3 separate regions of the Homo sapiens genome follow, and regions 1 and 3 are each linked to region 2. Evidence: promoter capture Hi-C in human tissues and cell types (Jung and others, 2019). All regions are on one chromosome and are shown on one strand. Each heading gives the region's core, a stretch centred on a gene start or on the middle of the fragment in contact. The rest is flanking DNA. Distances are from core to core; before and after follow the strand shown.

Region 1 (3,604 bases), core at 954-3,453, 62 kb after region 2:
TTCCCCAGGGATCCAGATCTCCTGGGGTATCACCATCATGAGATGCCCCTACCTCTAAGCTCCACCAAAAAGCACTGGGCATTCTCCTCCTACCCGTTGTCCAGGTGAGGAGCGAGACCATTATCATTTGCCTCCAGTCTGACTCTCTTACATCTGTCCCAGTGCACCCCAGTATGGAGCCTGTAGCCACCCTGTCTGTCCCTATCTCTCCAGTGCTCTGGGATTCCTCTTGCCCCCAGTCTTCTCCAGTGCTGTTCTCCTAACCCTGAGGGCCTTGGTGACCTTGATCACCACCCCAACTATTGCTCTGAAGATGAAATAAGGTGGGCTGTGGACACATATTGGATCCTGTGATGGACCAACAGCTGATAACAGGCCAGCAGGACACCAGGAAGGTCTAAGGCAGAGGTGTCCAATCTTTTGACTTCCCTGGGCCACATTGGAAGAAGAAGAATTGTCTTGGGCTACACATAAAATACACCAACATTAACAATAGCTGATTAGCTAAAAAAAAATTGCAAAAAAAAAAACTCATTATGTTTTAAGAAAGTTTACAAATTTGACTTGGGCTGCATTCAAAGCCATCCGGGGTCACATGCGGCCTGCGGCCGTGGGTTTAAAAAGCTTAGTCTAAGGCTGGGGAAAAAGCACATTTTTGAGAAAATAAAAATCACAATTTTTTGTTTTTGAGACGGGTTTCACTCTGTCACCCAGGCTGGTGTGCAGTGACACAATCACGGCTCACTACAGACTCGACCTCGCTGGACTCAGGTGATCCTCCCACCTCAGCCTCCCAAGTAGCAAGGACTACAGGCGTGTGCCATCAGGCCTGGCTAATTTTTGTATTTTTTGTAGAGATGAAGTCTCACTATGTTGCCCAGGTTGGTCTCAAACTCCTGAGCTCAAGCCATCTGCCCACCTCAGCCTCCCAAAATGCTGGGATTACAGGCGTGAGCCACTGCACCTGGCTGAAAATCAGAAAATTTTGATCCACACTGGGGACAGGGAGTAACTGGTTGTTAACTGAGTGAACAACAAGGAGGATGGAGTGGTCTAGAGAGAAACTTAAGAGAAAGAGAGAGAGAGGCCATATGCAGTGGCTCATGACTGTAATCCCAGCCCTTTGGGATGCTGAAGTGGGCGAATCACCTGAGCCCAGGAGTTTGAGACTAGCCTGAGCAACATAGGGGGACCCTGTCTCTACAAAAACAAAAACAAACAAACAAACAAAAAATTAAAAATAGCCAGGCATGGTGGGGCACGCCTGTGGTCCCGGCTACTCAGGAGGCTGAGGCAGAAGGATTGCTTGAGCCTAGGAGATTGTGGTTACAGTGAGCTATGATCACGCCACTGCACTCCAGCCTGGGTGACAGAGCAAGACCCTCTTTCAAAACAAAAGACAAAAACAAAACAAAACCCAACCAACAAAACAAAACAAAAATAAAAAGAGGAGACAGTCTTTATGAGGGTGCTACAGAACAGCCCTGCTTTGAGGAAGGTAGGGCACATTTCAGGAGTCCCTTATGGTCTTTAGATTTCTAAATTTTCTATTTTTATCTAGTCTTCCCATCTTCCATTCACTGGTTCTCAACCTGGGTTTAAGGTACTGGCCCTGCCTAGGAGTGTTTGGAAATGCCTAGGAGAGTTGTGGCTGTCACAACTGGGCCTCTACTGCCATGTAGGGGGCAGGGCCAGGGATGCTAAGAAGCCTGAAGCTCTTGGTATTGCAGGTGGAAAAATTGCCTGTCCCAAAGACAAGATACAGATTGAGAAACACCAGTCCCTGCACTACCTCACCTAGCCTCTAGGGGTGCTCTTCTCCCCCTGCAGAGCTGGCCTGAGTTTGCCCTGACTCTGCCATCCCCTATCAGACTCAGCCTGATTTGGAGTTTTCAGATGGAAATTTCTAAAGAAACTTAAGAAGACAGATGGGAAATTATCAAAGAAAGCAACAAAGCATAAAAAAAGAGGAGCATCAACAGATTTCTGAGTCTAAGGAAGCTCAAGTCTATTTAGTCTAGTCATTTTTTTTTTTAACTCACAATTTTCCTGATTGAAACAATTTACTAGGTGCAGAGGCCTCATTTCTTTCCTTATGCTAAGGACACTACAGCCAGTCATAGCTCAGGCTGGCCCTGATACTGGCCTGGTAGAATGTTTAAGCTTTCTAGAGGCCAGGCTCTGGATCTTTTTCTTGGTGTGACCCAGAAAGACCATGGGCTCAAATCACTCCAGTCTCAAGCTGCTTTGGCCTTCTGGCCTCTCCTCAGTCTTTGACCCCTTGCACTAGCTCCACACATCAGGTCTTTCTGAGCAAGGTGTGGCCTTCTCTTTTGCCTTTAGAGTAAGTGTCAAGTAATGCTAGCAGCTGTGATGGAGTTCTCATCAACGCTCATGGTTCCAGACAAGAACAGTTGCTTTTTCACTCACTTACAGCCTAAAACCAATGGTACCAACTGGTGGCAGGTCTCCTCCAAGTGGTAATTCTGAACCCTAGGCTCTTTTCATCTGGTGGCTTCTCCATCTTCATTGTGTGGTTTCTCCACAAGGAGCCTGCAGAAGAGGAGAGGGGATGGAGGATTGCCTGCACGTGGTTTTCATGGGCCAAGCCTAAAATTACCACACATGACTTGTGCTCATATTCTACTGGCAGGAATGGAGACACATGCCCCCAACCTCCAGCTGCAGGAGATGCTGGGAAATGTAACCTAGCTGTGTGTTCAGGAAGATGAAGAATTGGGTTTTACAACCAGTCAGCAGTACATACCTCCACCTCCCATGAATGGGCTTCTAGAAGTCCTATTTTCCTTTTTCTCTACAATTTTTTGGCAGGTCTAAAGCAATGTCCTGGTTACGAATAAGTGGCTGGTTCCTCAAAAAGTTAAACATAGGATTATCACATAATCCTACAATCCTACTTCTAAGCTTATACACAAAAGAATTTAAAACAGTACTCAAACAAATACATGAACACACATGTTCATAGTAGCACTATTCACCCTAGCCAAATCCTTATCGATGCAATGAATGGATAAACAAACTGTGGTACAGATATACAATGGAATATTATTCAGCCATAGAAAGGAATTAAGTATTGATACATACTACAATGTGGATGATTATGCTAAGTGAAAGAAGCCAGACAAAAAGTCACATGTTGCATGGTTCCATTTGTATGAAATATCCAGAATAGTGAAACCCATACAGATGGAAAGAAGATTGGTGGTTGCCCAGAACTGTGGAGTAACTGCTTAATGGAGACCCTTTGGGGATGATGAAAATGTTCTGGAACTGGCTGAAGATGGTGGTTGCACAATGTTGTCAATGTATTAAATGACACTCAATTGTTCACTGAAAAATGGTTAATTTTATGTTATATAAATTTTACCTCATTTAAAAAAATGTTTAAATGATTCTAAAAGAAAGAACAAATGGATGGATTTTTTGCTTTGGTTTTGTTTTTAATGAAGCCTAGTTTTTACGTATTGTTTGTTGTTAATTTTTCTGGTCTGCATCACATAAGATGATTCTTAGCACTTGACCTGCTCCAGCAACTTAACTCCATCCTGTACGCCTTCTAAAGACATTGGAGAAGCAACTAATC
Region 2 (3,634 bases), core at 32-2,531:
CTCCCCAGGTTCCGGGTCTCCTGCACCTCTTTAGCTTCTCCGCTCGGCCCCAGATGGAGCTCAGTTCCCTCACCCCGCGGCTCCTCGCCGGCTGGGCAGCCAGAGCCTGCGCCACCCTTTGCCAGCAGGACAGACGGCCCACCTGTGGCTGGCCAGCCCATCCTGTCTCCTGGGTCCTGCGGTGGGCTCAGAGCCACCCTTCCGTTTCCGCTTCCCCCTGACCGAGTCCCCAGGCTGAGCCCCAGGCCGGCCCATCCCCCACCCCAAAGGTCCCATCCCAGGCTGCGGTCGGACCCCAGCCAGCCGGCCCGGGAGGAGCCTAGCTCCTGGTTCCAGATACTTCAGACAGACCCAAGGCCACCTTGTCCCTCCGCACAGACTCGCGAGCTCCAAGGAGGAGAAAGTCCCCAGGCTCTGGAGCGCTTCCAGCCTGCCAGTCCGCCCGTGTCACGCCCTCCCTAACCTCACTGCCACCTCTCGGCTCCTCCACATCTCCAGGGCCCCACTCTACCCAGCAACAGTTTGGGGGAGGTTCTGGCCTCTCCAGGCGAAGGCCCAGGCGCCCTCTCCCTGGCCGCTTCTGGGCATTCTCCAGCCCTCCGTCCCTCTGCCCCTCGGCCGCCTCCCTCTCCCAAGTCTCCGGCTCCCCCGCAGGCGTCTCGGCGGAAGGCAGCGGCCGGCCCTCCTCTGGCCCCCACCCGGGTCAGGCGGAGCTGCGGTGCCGGGGCAGGAGCCAGGAGCCCTGAGGCGGCTGCTCCGGCCGCTCCCGCCGCGTACGCCTCGGCCACGCCAGCGACCTCGGTGTCCACGATTCCCCGGCGGCGGCGGCGCTGCCCAGGTCAGCCCCGAAGCTGCACACTCACCCCGTGGGCGCCGGGCACCGTCTGCCGTCTGCTGCCCGCGCGGCCGCGCTCCGCTCGCCTTCCGCCCGGGGCCGGGCTGGGGACGCTGGTCCGCGCCCTCCCGCCGCGCGCGCCGTCTGCACAGGCCGGGGAGGCTCGGCGGGCGCCCTCCCCAACGTGGAGTTATCCTGGGAGCGGCTCCAGGGCCCAGCCGGTGAGGGCGATGGCAGAATCCCAATCCGTCCCCACCCCCTCTCCGCGCCCTGGGCGCGTCGCGGCCGGAGGCTGGCGGGCGAGAGCCAGGCGCTCCTTGAGAGCGCCGCGCGTTCGCAGGTGCCCGGAGCAGGCCCTCGCGGCGCCCGGCACCCCCTCCACGCGCGCCCCTCTTCCCGGCTTCGCGCTCGCCCTCCTCACTCGCTTCTCCGCCGCTCTCCCAACCTCCCCAGCCCACTCCGGTCGCCTCCTCCCAGTCTGCATGCCACGCCAACCCCCTCCAGTCCCGCTGCCATTTTAACTCCTGAGTGGCCAGAGGCCCCCTCTACCTAACGCACACACACCCGGGAGGAAGGAGTTGGGTGGGGCCAGACGCTAACGCTTGAGCTGTCCTTGTGCCTAGAGACACAAGGCTTGGCTGAGAGAAGGGGCACAGCCCTTGGGTCCGGGAAGAGAAGGGTTGGCTTCTCTCATACTGCCTCGGACCCTCTTGCAAAGGCCAGGAGACGAATGGGGAATTCAGCAGCTTTGTGAGGACAGGTGCAGCTCACAGTCACAGCATGCACCTAAGATCACATTTTTGCTTTGCATGGTGCTACCCTCCCGAAGTTAACAGTGGACTAAGGAATGTAGTGGGGTGGGTGAGAATTTGTCACTGGGCCCAGGCACCTCTCACCCTAAAGAATGGAGTGGAAGACCCCTTTAGTTGTCATGCTTTTCCAGCATTGCATCCTGAGCCGTGCAGCTCTAGCATTCTGGAAGATTCCGTCCTGGCTCTCAATGAAGGAGGTCAATTTCAGTCAGGAACTGGCAGGCCCAGTTAGGGGTTTGGCTTCAGGGTTCCCCACTCTGCCAGCTGGACATCATGAAGACTGGGGGAGGAAAGTAAGAAGGTGCCAAAGGTGGGTGCTAGGCTGCTGCCTGGTGGCTTAGAAAAGCTGGGTGACTGCCACTAGAGGAGGGCAAAGGCCCAATGCCCAACACCCATGCCTTGGTGGGGACTTCAGCCTGGACCACTCAGAACAGACATCACAAACTCGGCTCCATGGCAGGCCACACCCTACTGATGGGTCTGGACCAGAGCCTGCAGAACCAACAACAGGGGAATGGATGAGGTGGAGGCCAAGGTGTGGAGTCCTGTGAGGAGTGGCTTCCCTGGGCTGCCTGCCGTCATCCAGTGCTTGAGCTTCTGGCCCTGTCTTTTCCAAGGGTACAGCCAGTGGTGACTGCCATGCCTGGTGGCTTTTGTGAAGTTGGCTTGAAGGTCTGAGTTCTGTATGCACAGAGGGGATTCTCACCTTCATATATTGAATGAGCACATATTAAGTTCCCACTAAACCACCCCCATGTTCCCACTCTCCACCCCTGCTACGGAGCATAATGGCCTCAAGGAGCTCAGAGTGACAGGTTGGAACTATATGAAACCAATTTTAATATTTCAAGACGATGGAAGTGCCATAGAAATACAAAAAGAAACCACCTTAATGGACTAGCATTATTCACAAAAGGTTTAACGGAGGAGCTGAGTCTCCAACTGAGCCTAGTTGGAGGGATAGGATTTGAACTGGAAGAGAATATGGGGACCAGCAAAGGCAGGAAAGTGGAGACAAGCAGAGTAGAATGGGTTGTCTGGAGGGTAGGGGGCAAGGGAGGAAAATTATAGAGCTACTATTAGATGCCAGCCTTTTCTCATCTCTGTCATCTTAGACTCTGAGTTGACTAATATCCCCTTTTAACAGACCGGGGGATGGAGGCCCAGATCGTTTAAGGCAGTAGCCCAAAATCTGTAGGCAGAATGTGAGACCTCATTTTCACAGTGCGACAATGCCACATTGAGTATACAGGGTGGGAGCAGCTGATGAAGGGCCCGAATTGCCAGGCTCAGCAGTTTATCTGTGGACCCATCCTCAGGTGATTTGGGATGAAAGAGGCAGGAGGATGGGAGACTATTGAGGTAGCTGTTGCAGGAATCTAGGAGGAGGGGAGCAGTGAGAATAGAGTAAATGCATGGGCCTTTGTAAAGAAGACTTGGCAGAACTGTAAGACTGACTGATTGAAAGGGGTCAAAACTTGACTCCAAGCTTTTAGCCTGAGCATTTGAGTCCCTTGTCGAGTCACTGGAGCCACCTTTCCAGTCTAAGGGCCAATGTCAATGTAGACAGGATGATGGTGAAAAGGAGGACATTTTAGGAGTCCTTTACCAACTGCACGACCGGAGAGAGCACTCATGTCAGCACCCCAGCTTCCCAATAACTATGCATACTCAAGTGTCTTATCTCCTAACCAGAGGGTAAGCTTCTGGAGCCTATGACTGTCTTACACCTTAATAAGATAAGACCAGTCCTTTATAGTAGATGTCCAATAACTGATTATTGAAATAATAAATGGGATAAATGCAAGTAACGTTCACTAAGTGGTTGATCCTGAGTGGCAAAGCCTGTGAGATGTACTAGATGAGGCATAAGGGAATTTCATCAGCTGTGAGAAGAAAATAGGGGAAGGCTTATCTTGAGCTGACTCCAAATGTCTTAGAACCCAATGAGATTGGAGAAAGAGTGTAGCTTTTAGAGCTGGAAAGA
Region 3 (3,966 bases), core at 391-2,890, 43 kb after region 2:
GAGCCAGGAAAAGAGTCACAGTAGCACACTGATGTATAGTATTTTCACCATACACATAGAACAGGAGTAAATGACCTCAAGAACACAGATAATATAGTCAAAGAATTAAGAATTGATAACATTAGAGTATTTATTGCCTTTGCTTTTAATATCACTTATTAAATTATAAGTTTATGTAATTTACTTTTCAATAATGGTGTGTTTAACAACTGGCTCATTAAATTCCTGAAAAATGCCTGGTCCTCCCCTTTGGATCTTTCCAGATGAGACTGTACATCCCCAAATTTGCGGGAGTACATAGTTGAGGCCCTTGCTGTGGGAAGCCTCTCAGGGAAAATAGGAGCATTTATTTCTGCATGCCATTTGTCTCCCTTTATTAACTTTAGTTTCTCTTCCTGTTATATAAGACATTCCTTGTAGATTCTCCTGCCTTTGTAAGGATGGTATTGAGAGAAATGAAATCAGGGCAGTAGTAACACCTTGCATCTTATGGAATCTTCCAGTTTACTAAACCCAAATCTCATTACTTCTCACAGCAATTCTGTGACGTGAGGTATGTGGAGCAGTTAAATTGCAGATGAACTATTTCACACCAGGTTGGCAAACTGTTTCTGTAAAGGGGTAGAGGCTGGGTGCAGTGGCTCACACCTGTAATCCCAGCACTTTGGGAGGCTGAAGCAGGAGGATCACTTGAGCCCAGGAGTTCGAGACCAGCCTGGACAATGTGGCGAAACCCCAACGCTACAAAAAATACAAAAATTAGCCAGGCATGGTGGTGCACTCCTGTAGTCCTAGCTACTTGGGAGGCTGAGGTGGGAGGATGGCTTGAGCCCAGGAGTTCGAGGCTGCAGTGAGCCAAGATTGCATCACTGCACTTCAGCCTGGGCGACAGAGTGAGATCTTGTCTCAAAAAACAGTTAAAATAAAATAAATAAACAAATAAAGGCATAGAGACTAAATATTTGAGGCTTTGCAGGCCATAAGGTCTCTGTTGCAACTACCTGGTTATTATTGATTGAGAGCTGCCACAGACAATACGTAAACAAATGAGTTTGGCCATTTTCCAATAAACTTTATTTATGGGCTCTGAAATTTGAATTATATATAATTTTACATCTCACAAAATGTTATTCTTCTCTTGATTTTTTCCAACCATTGAAAAATATTTTTAAAAAACCCATTAACTCACAGGCCATATAAAAACAAGCCCTAGGCGCCTTTCTCCCATGGGCTGTGTGGGGTCCCTGTTCTTCGCAGCTAAGGCTGGAGGCCAAGATCAGCCTTTGAGGACTGTCATCAGAATTGCCTTGCTTTCCTGCCTCAGATGTGAAAAATAAAAACAAGCCCTAGGCAGAATTTGGCCTATAGGCAACAAAAGAGGAAATTAAGCTTCAAAGAGAACAGTGACTTGTTCAAGTTCATCTAGATCGGCAGAGTTGGTCCTGGCATGGTTCCAAATCCCCTGAACTTTCCACTAAACCCACCTGCCACAAAAGGTGCCCCTCCTGCTCCTCAACACACCTTCTGGGACCTGCAGGTGGATTCTCCACTGGGGACCTTCTGTAACCCACTAAGTGCTTTTGGGCCACTTTCTCTTACTGCCCGTTTCTGTCTCTTTAAGTGTGGTGAGCCTTCCCATGCATCAAAGTAAAAAAGAAAAGGCGTTTGGACATGTATAGTCAGGCAATTTGCTCCCCCTCCATTAAAGCAGAAAATAAAGAGCTCACTGTCTTTATGACTGTTGATTTTATGATTCCGTCCTATTTTGTCACAGGTATCCTAAATTTCCACCAAGCAGGGACTACCTGTTTGTTATTCTGTGTCTTCAAATGTCTAGTCCAGCACTCTTCCTGCAGGACACTTGGGAAAGAACTCGGTGACTAATGATTAAGCTCCCCTCCAGCCTGGCATTGTATAACAAGAGATGGGTGTGACCCACCTGTGTGATTTATTTCCCCTCAATATGTTATTACGAAAAATGTAAAAATTCAGAAGAGTTTAAAGAATTGCACAGTGAACAACCATATGCCCACAATCTAGATTCTATAACTAACATTTTGCTATATTTGCTTTACCCCAAATCTGTTCATCTATCCATCCACCAGTCTTTTCTTATATTGTGGACACATTTCAAAGTTACAGACTTTGGTACACTTTAACCTCTAAATACTTCAATATCATATTGTTAATTAGAGTTCAATATTTGTTTATGCTGCTTCTTATTTATTTTTTGACCTGGTGGAAATGTGAAAGACTCTGGAGGCTGCCTCCAGAATATAGATCCCCACCCACTCCACTGACCCCTGAAGAATTTACTTGGGCATTTCTTTCCTTATAGCCTTTCCAAAGCTTTGACAATCCATGCAAATACCTTTGGTAGAGATCACTCATTAAGTCCACTCAGTGGTGGCTGGAATAGTGGCAACAGCCTTCAGTCAGGCCTGGGTTTGAATCCCTCTCCACTCTGTCACTCATACTTGTGTGCCCTTAGGCAAGTTTTTTTTTTTTTTAATTTCTCCAAGCCTCTTCACATGTAAAGTGTGGCTAATAATAACTGTCTTGTGATAGGAATAGTGAGGACTGCAAATTCAGAGCTACCTGTAAATGGCAGCGCAGTAGGATAATGAGAAGAGATATTAACTGTGTCCATTTTCCTGACTATGGATTTGTCACAAAAGAATGAGAGCTACTTCCAACTTCACCCCAACTCCATTCAGGGAAGACTGTCCTAGCTGCGTACTAGATTTAGGCTCTTCTCACGCGGGTGGAGTTAACAGCTTCTCCATGCTTCCACTGTAATTTAAAAAGACAAAACAAAACAAAGCCCACCTTACCATGCTGAGGAGGATTTGGCTCCACAAGAGAGGGGAGGGAGGCTGCTGCTGACCTGGAACTGGGGAGTGGGTTGAATCCTGTGGCAGAATGTGGGGGAGTGAGTGACGAGGCGGCGTGTGTGGGGGTGAAGACCTGCGCTCCATGCCCACACAGCCACCCAGGACACAACAGAACCCCTTCTGGGGTCTGGGGGATGATGGCCAAGTTAGCATGGAGGAGAATAGATTGTGAACAGCCCTGACCTCCTCGAAGGGACCCTATAGGTTCAGACAATGAGCAGAAGCCTTTCTCCAAGCTCTGCAAATTGAGTGACCACCCTGTTAAAGAAAAAAATTGGCCGGGTGCAGTGGCTCACGCCAGCACTTTGGAAGGCCGAGGTGGGCGGATCACGAGGTCAGGAGATTGAGACCATCCTGGCTAAGATGGTGAAATCCCATCTCTACTAAAAATACAAAAAAGTAGCCGGGAGTGGTGGCACCCGCCTGTATTCCCAGCTACTCAGGAGGCTGAGGCAGGAGAATCGGTTGAACCTGGGAGATGGAGGTTACAGTGAACTGAGATTGAGCCACCACACTCCAGCCTGGGCAACAGAGCAAGACTCCAACTAAAAAAAAAAAAAGAAAAAAGAAAAGAATTATCCAAACGTGTGTTAAAGATGGCAAGGCAGACTTTATTCAAGGGAGGCCATGGCAGTAGGTATAGGGGCCACTGCAAAGATGTCTTATGGTGGGGGAGAGAGATCAGGCTCAGTTTCAACTCCAACAAGGGCAAGTGGAGATTTGTAATCAACCAATGGTCAGGGTTAAGGACAGAGGATGGAAAATTACTAGGAAGAAACATCAAGGGTAAGGGGTTTCTGGCTAAACTGACTTGACAGGATCATTGCTGAATGCAGGCAGGGGTGATAAAATATTGAGGATAGTCAGATAACAAGAGTGGGGAAATTTCACTAACCTGACTTAGCAGGATTCTTGCTCAAACTGGATTCTGAAAGGACATGGGGAAGCCCAAGGTCAGGCCTCGTCAAGCAGAAGACTCAGAGGCGCCGCCGGACTAAGGTTTCAGGGTGATGAGAGAGTCTTTGTCATTCCAAACACTCAAACCACCTTAGGGAGCATGGTGGAACGTCCT

What was found. The method cuts DNA at HindIII sites, captures the fragments that hold promoters and counts their contacts. A contact is called where the count stands out against the background at its distance.
Region 1: a fragment that was not itself captured here is called in contact with the fragment with the promoter of LRRN2 in region 2 in 4 of the 25 tissues and cell types used here (H1 embryonic stem cells, heart left ventricle, liver and 1 more).
Region 3: a fragment that was not itself captured here is called in contact with the fragment with the promoter of LRRN2 in region 2 in 2 of the 25 tissues and cell types used here (bladder and pancreas).

The regions. Positions count from the first base shown.
Region 1 is chr1:204,745,229-204,748,832 of GRCh38, forward strand. No RefSeq gene overlaps it. Among named protein-coding and RNA genes, the nearest start is that of LRRN2, 61 kb to the left of the region's middle. RefSeq lists a silencer at 1,784-1,873. The HindIII fragment of the contact is 5,126 bases long and covers 1-3,604 here.
Region 2 is chr1:204,684,457-204,688,090 of GRCh38, forward strand. LRRN2 (leucine rich repeat neuronal 2) reads right to left here and starts at 1,282. Exons shown (of 2, transcript NM_201630.2): 1 at 864-1,282. The HindIII fragment of the contact is 8,916 bases long and covers 1-3,634 here.
Region 3 is chr1:204,726,777-204,730,742 of GRCh38, forward strand. It overlaps LOC105371695 (a long non-coding RNA gene), which reads right to left. Exons shown (of 5, transcript XR_922456.3): 1 at 3,790-3,966. The region is part of intron 1 of LOC105371694 (a long non-coding RNA gene); the gene reads left to right. It also overlaps the pseudogene LOC124900453. Among named protein-coding and RNA genes, the nearest start is that of LRRN2, 43 kb to the left of the region's middle. The HindIII fragment of the contact is 5,503 bases long and covers 1-3,966 here.